2 separate regions of the Homo sapiens genome follow, and region 1 is linked to region 2. Evidence: promoter capture Hi-C in 16 types of primary human blood cells and fetal thymus (Javierre and others, 2016). All regions are on one chromosome and are shown on one strand. The core of a region is centred on a gene start or on the middle of the fragment in contact, and the rest is flanking DNA. Distances in the headings are between cores, read along the strand shown.

Evidence for each region. The method cuts DNA at HindIII sites, captures the fragments that hold promoters and counts their contacts. A CHiCAGO score of 5 or more calls a contact.
Region 1: a contact is called between a fragment that was not itself captured here and the fragment with the promoter of TNFRSF21 in region 2, in 2 of 17 cell types (monocytes and megakaryocytes). The highest score is 8.2, in monocytes.

Annotation. Positions count from the first base shown.
Region 1 is chr6:47,113,835-47,117,325 of GRCh38, forward strand. No RefSeq gene overlaps it. Among named protein-coding and RNA genes, the nearest start is that of ADGRF1, 73 kb to the left of the region's middle. The HindIII fragment of the contact is 6,107 bases long and covers 1-3,491 here.
Region 2 is chr6:47,308,364-47,312,340 of GRCh38, forward strand. TNFRSF21 (TNF receptor superfamily member 21) reads right to left here and starts at 1,542. Exons shown (of 6, transcript NM_014452.5): 1 at 1,053-1,542. The coding sequence starts at 1,148. RefSeq lists enhancers at 493-1,215, 1,379-1,558, 1,510-1,804 and a silencer at 1,009-1,238. The HindIII fragment of the contact is 9,028 bases long and covers 1,485-3,977 here.

The sequences.
Region 1 (3,491 bases), core at 653-3,152, 190 kb before region 2:
CCCAGAGCCCTGGAGACCCAGGAGGCTGAGAAGAGCAAAACAAGACATTTTGCCTCATGCTTCATTCCCATCTCCTGCAATTTCCTGTCAAATCTGCAGCTGTTTTCTACACCACGGCTTTACAAGGCTCATAGTAACCTCTCTCAGACAGAGGAAGACTCTAGGGTTCAACTGGGTCATCCTCCTGCCTCTCAGCAACTACACCCAACTCGTGAGATACACTCACATCTTTGTAAATTTGACTTCCCTTAAATATCTTTTAATCTCTTTCCAGGTTGAAACTTTTATAGATGTCAGGGTTGCACATTCTGATGTAGAGTAAGAAGGAAGGAGTTGTTCCCTAAATTTTCCCTTTCTTCCCATGTGCAGAGTTTCTGATTTGCACTTAACAGGAGGCTTTGTAACATGTACACCACAGCCATGTATTACAGAAACCACAGGTTTCCAGTGAATACTCCTGGGTTGGTTCAGTCCTTTGTGCAATGTACAAAATCTGGTTACATTTCAGGTCCTGGAACTTCCTGAGATATAAGGGATGATGGGGAGGAAGTGTTAAAGGTAAATGTGGTTTTGAGCCAGGATGATTGAGGCGTGGTCTCTGATAGAATAAGCAAGTCAAGAAGCAGAAAAACATTATAAAAGTTAAGATAGCAAGAGAACAGATTTGTGCGCACATTTTAGTTCATCAATGGGAGTGGAATCATGTATTTACTTATTTAGAGAGAAGGTCTTGCCTTGTCTCCCAGGCTGGAGTACAGTGATCATGTGTGATCACGGCTCACTGCAGCCTTAACCTCCTAGCTCAAGCGATCCTCACACCTCAGCCCCTTTTCCCACACTCCCAGGTAGCTGAGACTATAGGCATGCACCACCACGCCTGGCTAGTTTTTATTTTATTGTACAGATGGGGTCTCACTATGTTGCCCTGGCTTGTCTCAAACTGGGGCTCAGGTGATCCTCCTGACTGAGTAAAATCATTTTAGAGGGCTTTACACCTTCATTCTGGATTCAGAAAATATGAATCTCATTAGATAAATGAGATTGTTTCTAAAGACTTGAGGCAGGGAAGATTGCTGTGCTGCAGAAACTATTATTTGTCACAGGAGGTAACTGGAAGCATAGGAAGGAGATCCTGCAAGATAATATGAAAAATTATTTGATACTTATATATAGATTTAATAATTCTTCCATTTCTGGCATAGTCTTCAAGGAAAAGGGAAATTGTAGGGGTGATTGTAGGGGAACTAACAAGGCTTCCTCTCCCTAAGTCAACTCTGAGTTCTGAACACATTTCAGTATTTGAGAACAGTTCTCAAGTCCCCCCAAAACCTTCTATTTTTTAGTAGAATAGTCTCAGTTCCATCAAGTGATGGTTTCCAAAACCCTCAACACTCACTCTCTTCTGGATATGTTTTAGTTCATCAATATTCTTCTAAAAATATAGCATCTAGACTAGCAGAAAAATCTCTAAATGCCATCTGATCTGGTAAAAATTCAACAGATCTATCATCTCCCTTGTGCTGGCCACATTTTTCCCCTCAATGCAACTTAATGCCACATTGGATTATTTGCTGCAATGAGGCAGTCACAATTGGCTTGTATTGCCTTTGCAGTCAATTAATTCCAGTTTGTCTTTTTCAAATAAATTACTAGTTTATACTTATGCAATTATTTTGTTTTGTTTTTTGTCTGACTAAAGGCAAAAATTAACCCTTGTTAAATTATATTATGTAGATTTTAGCTGCCTGCCAATGAGCTTATTAAGACCATTTTGAATCTGGATACTGACTTCTCATTAACCATCCTTCCCAGCTATATGTCATTCCCAAATTGGTAATCAGGCCAGTTACGACTTCTCTCAAATGTTCAATAAAAATATTCAGCTGTGGGGAGAGAAACAAGCCAAGACCACTGTGGCATACGCTATTATTTTCCTCCTTCTCAACTGGGTTCTTCTTCAGGATCATATTGTTAGTGTTCACTTCATTAACTTAGAAAATATGCCATTCCATTATATAAGTCATTGAAAAACTTAATAACTTTTTTCACAATGCGTTTTTGATAAACTTCAATGGTTTGACGAAACGTAGAAGTAATTACTTCATTAAGAAAAATGTGTCTATGTTTTTAAATTGAATTAAAGAATAATGAAGTATTTTACTTGAGGCTCACATTTGGGTTAATGACATAATAATTTTCTAGCACTAGATCAAAGATGAAGGCCAAAGGGAGAGTTGAGAATCCATAAAATGGATGTATACCATAGGCTAGGATGTAGCTACTCAAACCTCAGCAGTATGTTGACATCACAATTACTTAATGATATTCCTGGATTTTTTATGATTGCATAGGCACCTAAATCACTCTGGGGCTTAACATAAATAGAGCAATAAAAGGGAGCCATCTAAAATAGCATTAACCTTTTAAAATCATGTTTCCCATTGAGTATAAGCTAAGGAATTGGGGTAATTGAGTGACTCATTTTGGCATGATTATAAAAGGGGCAGAGGGGAAACGTGCAAATATGTTGATATTCATCTAACAAATATTTTTAATAAATTAAATTGAGTCTATCCCTGGCTATGGATTCCTGAAGAATAATCACAGTTTATCAGTTAAATAATCTCCAGCCTAACCCGTATCCTCACCTTCTCTCATCTCCACCAAAGAAAATAATGAGATTTGACTTGCTGAGATGGATATGTATCTCACCCCAGCTATAACCTGAGCCTCTTTGACCAGTGAGTTTATGGGAAGGTCTTTTCCCTTCCAGGGGATCAGAGACCACCTGCTCTAAGAAGAGCAGGGAGAAAGTTGGACACACGCACAGAAAGTGGGGCATAGGGCTGGGTAGGGAAACTATTGCAGGGTAATGACGTTTCTCGTCCCTCCTCGGGTCCACCTGGCTGGCCTGGGTGTGGCAAGAATACTTCCGACTCATTCAAAGAAGCCTCACACTAGAGTGAGCAACCTTCCCAGTTTGTCCAGGACTAAGAGGTTGCCAGGAACTGAGATGTTGCCCAGCACAATGAACTTTTAATACCAAAACTGAGAAAGCTCCAGTCACACTGTGATGAGTTGGTTACCTCATACACACAACTGAACAGGAGGATTGTAAGGGCTTATCCGAGTCCACAAATCTCTTCCCTTAATTCTCCCTGAAACCAAAACTAATGGGGGGTGGTGGGGGTAGGGGGTGGAGACCTGTTCTTAATGTTACCTGTCAAAGCTCAAGGTACTGAATTTGACTCCTTCCTATGAATTCCTGAGGATGTGCAGGGTTGGTGGTTTATCATGGGCCATAATCCAAGATGTGAAGGGTGGGTGGTTTGTCATGGGCCATATAACATTGTGGACAGGAACAGAGACTCTGGTCTCAACTGCCTGAATCCAAATGCCGTGTGACCTGGAGAATTTTTCTTATCCTCTCTGTGCTTTCATGTTCTCACTTGTAAAATGGGAATGAGAGTAAGGCCTAACTCGTAAGTTTG
Region 2 (3,977 bases), core at 292-2,791:
GCTCTTGTTTCTTGGGGGTTTTTTTGTTCGGTTTTTAGCTAAGAATTTCCATCCCTCCTGCAGTGATAAAAGATAGGCAAGGGAAGCTCAAGGGTTTGATCTCAAATTTTCTTCCACCTAACTTGCCCCTTCACCCCAATATTTGGAAATAAAGGGAGGGAATTTGGGGGAAGTTGAGGGTAAGTTTTTGGTCAAGATGATTGACCCGAGATGTGGATGCAGCTTAGACGATGAGGGAGACTGCACCACCCTGCAGGGTCACCTGCCTAGCCACAGGTAAACGAGGGATCGGAAAGACTGTAGAAAATTCATCTTCCTTCACACACATCTCCTTCCCCCTCCCCCCATTCCAGTGCCGGCGCGCTGGCTGGCTGGAAGCCGGCGCTTTGGAGGCGCCGGAGAGTGGGTCTAAGGGTGATATTTCGGCATACAGAACCTGAGACCCCACCCGAGCCAAGAGGGAAGAGAGAGGGTAAAGGGATTGAGGAGGGGGCGGCTTGCGCCCTGCTCGGGAATGCACCGCGCGACAGCACCCGGAGGTCTCCGGTGTCCGGCGCGCACCGGTACCACTGTCTTCCACTGCGGTAGCATCCCGACATGACATTGCAGCTGCAACAAAGCGCCGGCCTCGGCCGGCCGTGGGAGCCCCACACCGCGGCGAGGCCCCACACCACGCAGAGGGGCAGTGGCCGATGGGTGGGGGGCTGTGGCTGCGGGCGTGGGGAGCGCGAGGTAGGCCGAGTAGGGGGAAAAGCCCTCAAATGCGCAGAAGCTGGGCGGCTACCTCTAGCGTCTCCTCCAGCAAAGCCAGACTGCAAGGAAAACAATTCGTCTTCATTCCCCAGCCCCGGCTGAGCCCTGAGATTCCCCCAAATAACCTAGTCGAGGCCCTCTGGTGTGTTGCCTTCCCTTGGAAACCCCTCAGTGCCCGTAACCCAGTCGGCCGGGCCCCGCGCCTCCCTAAGCCCCGGCCCGGTGACCCGCCCGGCTCCCGGAGAGCGGTTCCTTCTGCTCCGGCGCCGCCGCCACCCCCGGTCCACGCAAGCGCTCACCAGGAGAAGGGAGCCCGCGATCATCGTGGCTGTGGCTCGGCGGGCGATGCGGCTGCAGGAGGCGAGGGCGGTGCTGCTGCTCGGAGAGGTCCCCATGGCTGAACCGGGGACTCGCAGGGGCGCCCGGGGCGCGCGGGGCAGCTGGAATCGGCGGCTGCTTCTGCCCAGCGCCGCATCCACCGCCGCCTCCCGGGCCGGGAGCCCATCTACCTCCAACACCCCATGTGCACTGCTGCGGCCGGGCAGAGGAGGGAGGCGGCAAGGGAGGCTCTAGGGGCGCTCAGCACCTGCCCAGCGGCGCGGCCGCCCAGGCGGGGAGAAGCCGCCGCGACTGCAGCCCGCGTCTCCGGGTGCTCTCCTCCGACAGCGGCTGAGGAGAACCAGGGAGGAGGACTGGGCGCGAGAGAGCAAAGGAACGACTTCCCATAGCGAAGCTTCCAGCCACTGCCAACCACCCTCCTCCGCTGCCCAGACTGGTCGGCGAGGGACTGAGTCGGTGGCCACCGGGCGCAGGGACACACGTGGTGGCGCCGAAGGGGCGGGGGACCGGCCCTTTGTGATGTCACCCGGGAGGAGGCCGGGCTCTTTGTGCGGTTGGAAAGGCGAAGGCGTTCCAGGTAGAGCGGGGAGGGAGAGGGTGCCCCTTGGCGTTCGCTGAGGAAATTGCACGCGCCTGTTGACCCAGGGAAAGCGCTGAGAAAGCATCTCACTCCTGATCTAACTTTACTTATTTTTTCCGAGATAATTCCAACTAAATTATTTCAGCTACATACGCCTTTCCATTGTTTCGGACACGATGATTAAATCAGAGAGCGATGGTGAATAGACCACAGAGCACTTAGATCAACTGCGTGACGAAAAAGGAGACCTGTGTGTTGCTTCTCAAACTTTGCTGCCCTGTGGAATCACCTGGAGAGTTCAAAACATATATATTGATTCTTGGGTCCCACCTCTAGAGACTCTGATTTAATTGGAACAGGACAGGATCTGGTCTGGGCATTGAGGTTTGTTGTTGTTGTTGTTTGTTTGTTTTTTAAGTTTTCAGGGTGATTTTAATATGGGGCAAAGATTTTAATTTTTTATATTTTAATTTTAATATGGGCTTATGAATGCAATTAAGGAAATCCAAACTAAAAGGATTTAAAACCCAGAGTCATTGGTGTTGGGTCCATGGATGGTCTTGGAGGGACTTTTGAACTCCTTGAAATGTATCAAAAGATGCATTTTCCTAATTTAAAAATCAAGAGTTTTGAATCGGATTATCCCTGAGATTTTTTTTAATCACCCTTCCCCCAAAAAATAATGCTAAAAATTTTTGAGTTGATTTCCAAAGGCCTTGTCAGGATGTGGGTGGTAGAATAGGTAGTATTCTGCTTCAGAAGGAGAACTGGAATATTCTCGTGGATGTTGGTATCTCACACACTTCTGAATGTAAGAGAGCAGCTGTTATCCTTTTCTTTGTTTCACCTGGGGGAAGGCCGAGTCTCCTGACTGTGGCCACCATTTCTGGTATCGTGTTATCCATCATCTAGGTACTGACAGCACATGGCACACTGTATTGATATTACCTCTTCAGCCATCCAGTCCACACCCCTCAATTGGGAGCCCTATGGTGCTGGGCTTATCCTAGGCTCCTTTGGTCCCATTTCAAAAGAATCACACTTTTTAAACTATCAGTTTCAAGATCCAACACCCAGTGCTAATAAAGGTAACTTGCTAAGTCATAGGTACCAATTATTTGCTTTATTAGTTAACATGTTGTCCTTTGATTCTTTGCTCTATGCACACTTTGGTAGAAGCTAAAATTAATATGAGGGTTAATTCCAATCTATTATTTCAAACATTTGTCAGTATTGTCTATAAATGTTAGAGTGGGAAAAAAGCTACAATATATAACCTCTAGTGAAATTCAAAGGAGTTCTAGAAAATATTACCATTAATTATGGAGTTTTGGGGAAAGGATGATGGTTGGACTTGCCACTCTCTAGCTATTTTCAGAAGTTGAAAGAGTGAGGGATAGATGCTGTGTTTTCATGCATAACTGTATCAATTTTTTCTTCAAAAATTCAAATGACTGGCCAATACTATTATAAGGTTGGGTTGTTTTTTTTTAAGAAGTTACATAGGTATTAAAGAGGAGGAGGAGCTTCAAATACGTTTTTATTTAGTCCATTTTACTCCTTGCATCCAAACTCACATTTTTCGTGGTAATATATGATTGATTTGCTCTAAAGAGTTGGGCAACTTTAGAGTTTAGTGTCTGGGTTACTATGCAGGTATAAGAAGTTCTTCTCAACTATTTGTCTTCCTAAAACTAAAAGAAAATTGTTTATTTGTGCTTGGACCACTTTGAAACTTCATGAATTCCTGGTGTTCCATTGATCATATCAAGTTGAAATTTAATATACATTTTGAGAGATGAAAAAATTTACTCAATTCTGTTTACTACTAACATTTAAATACATGTCCCTCTATAGAGTGATAGATTATAGATAATTTGAATCTAGATGCAGTGTGAAATTTTATTACTTTGAATTGAAATGTATACATGCCTTCCATTTTGAAGTAACAATGCTGCAACCATTAAATAATTCATTGCCACATTTTCAATGTGGTAACTTAGACATGTCTGTTTTCTGGGAAAGGATAAAAATTCAATGATACATAAGGAAGTTTCTCCCAAAGTTCCAAGGAAAGAGGAGATATGTGTTGATAAATCATAATTATAGCTAAATTTTAAAGGAAGGCCTAAATGAGTTAATCCAATGTCATCTTTGCCATAAAAATTACTCTATCTCCACCCTCCATCCTACCTTTGGACTTTCTCTCTTTCTGCCAATGTTGTACAATTTTTCTAGTTTTCCAACCTCAAAAATCATTGCTAATTCTTTCCTCGTCCTTAGTACATTCCAATTAATGCTTTCC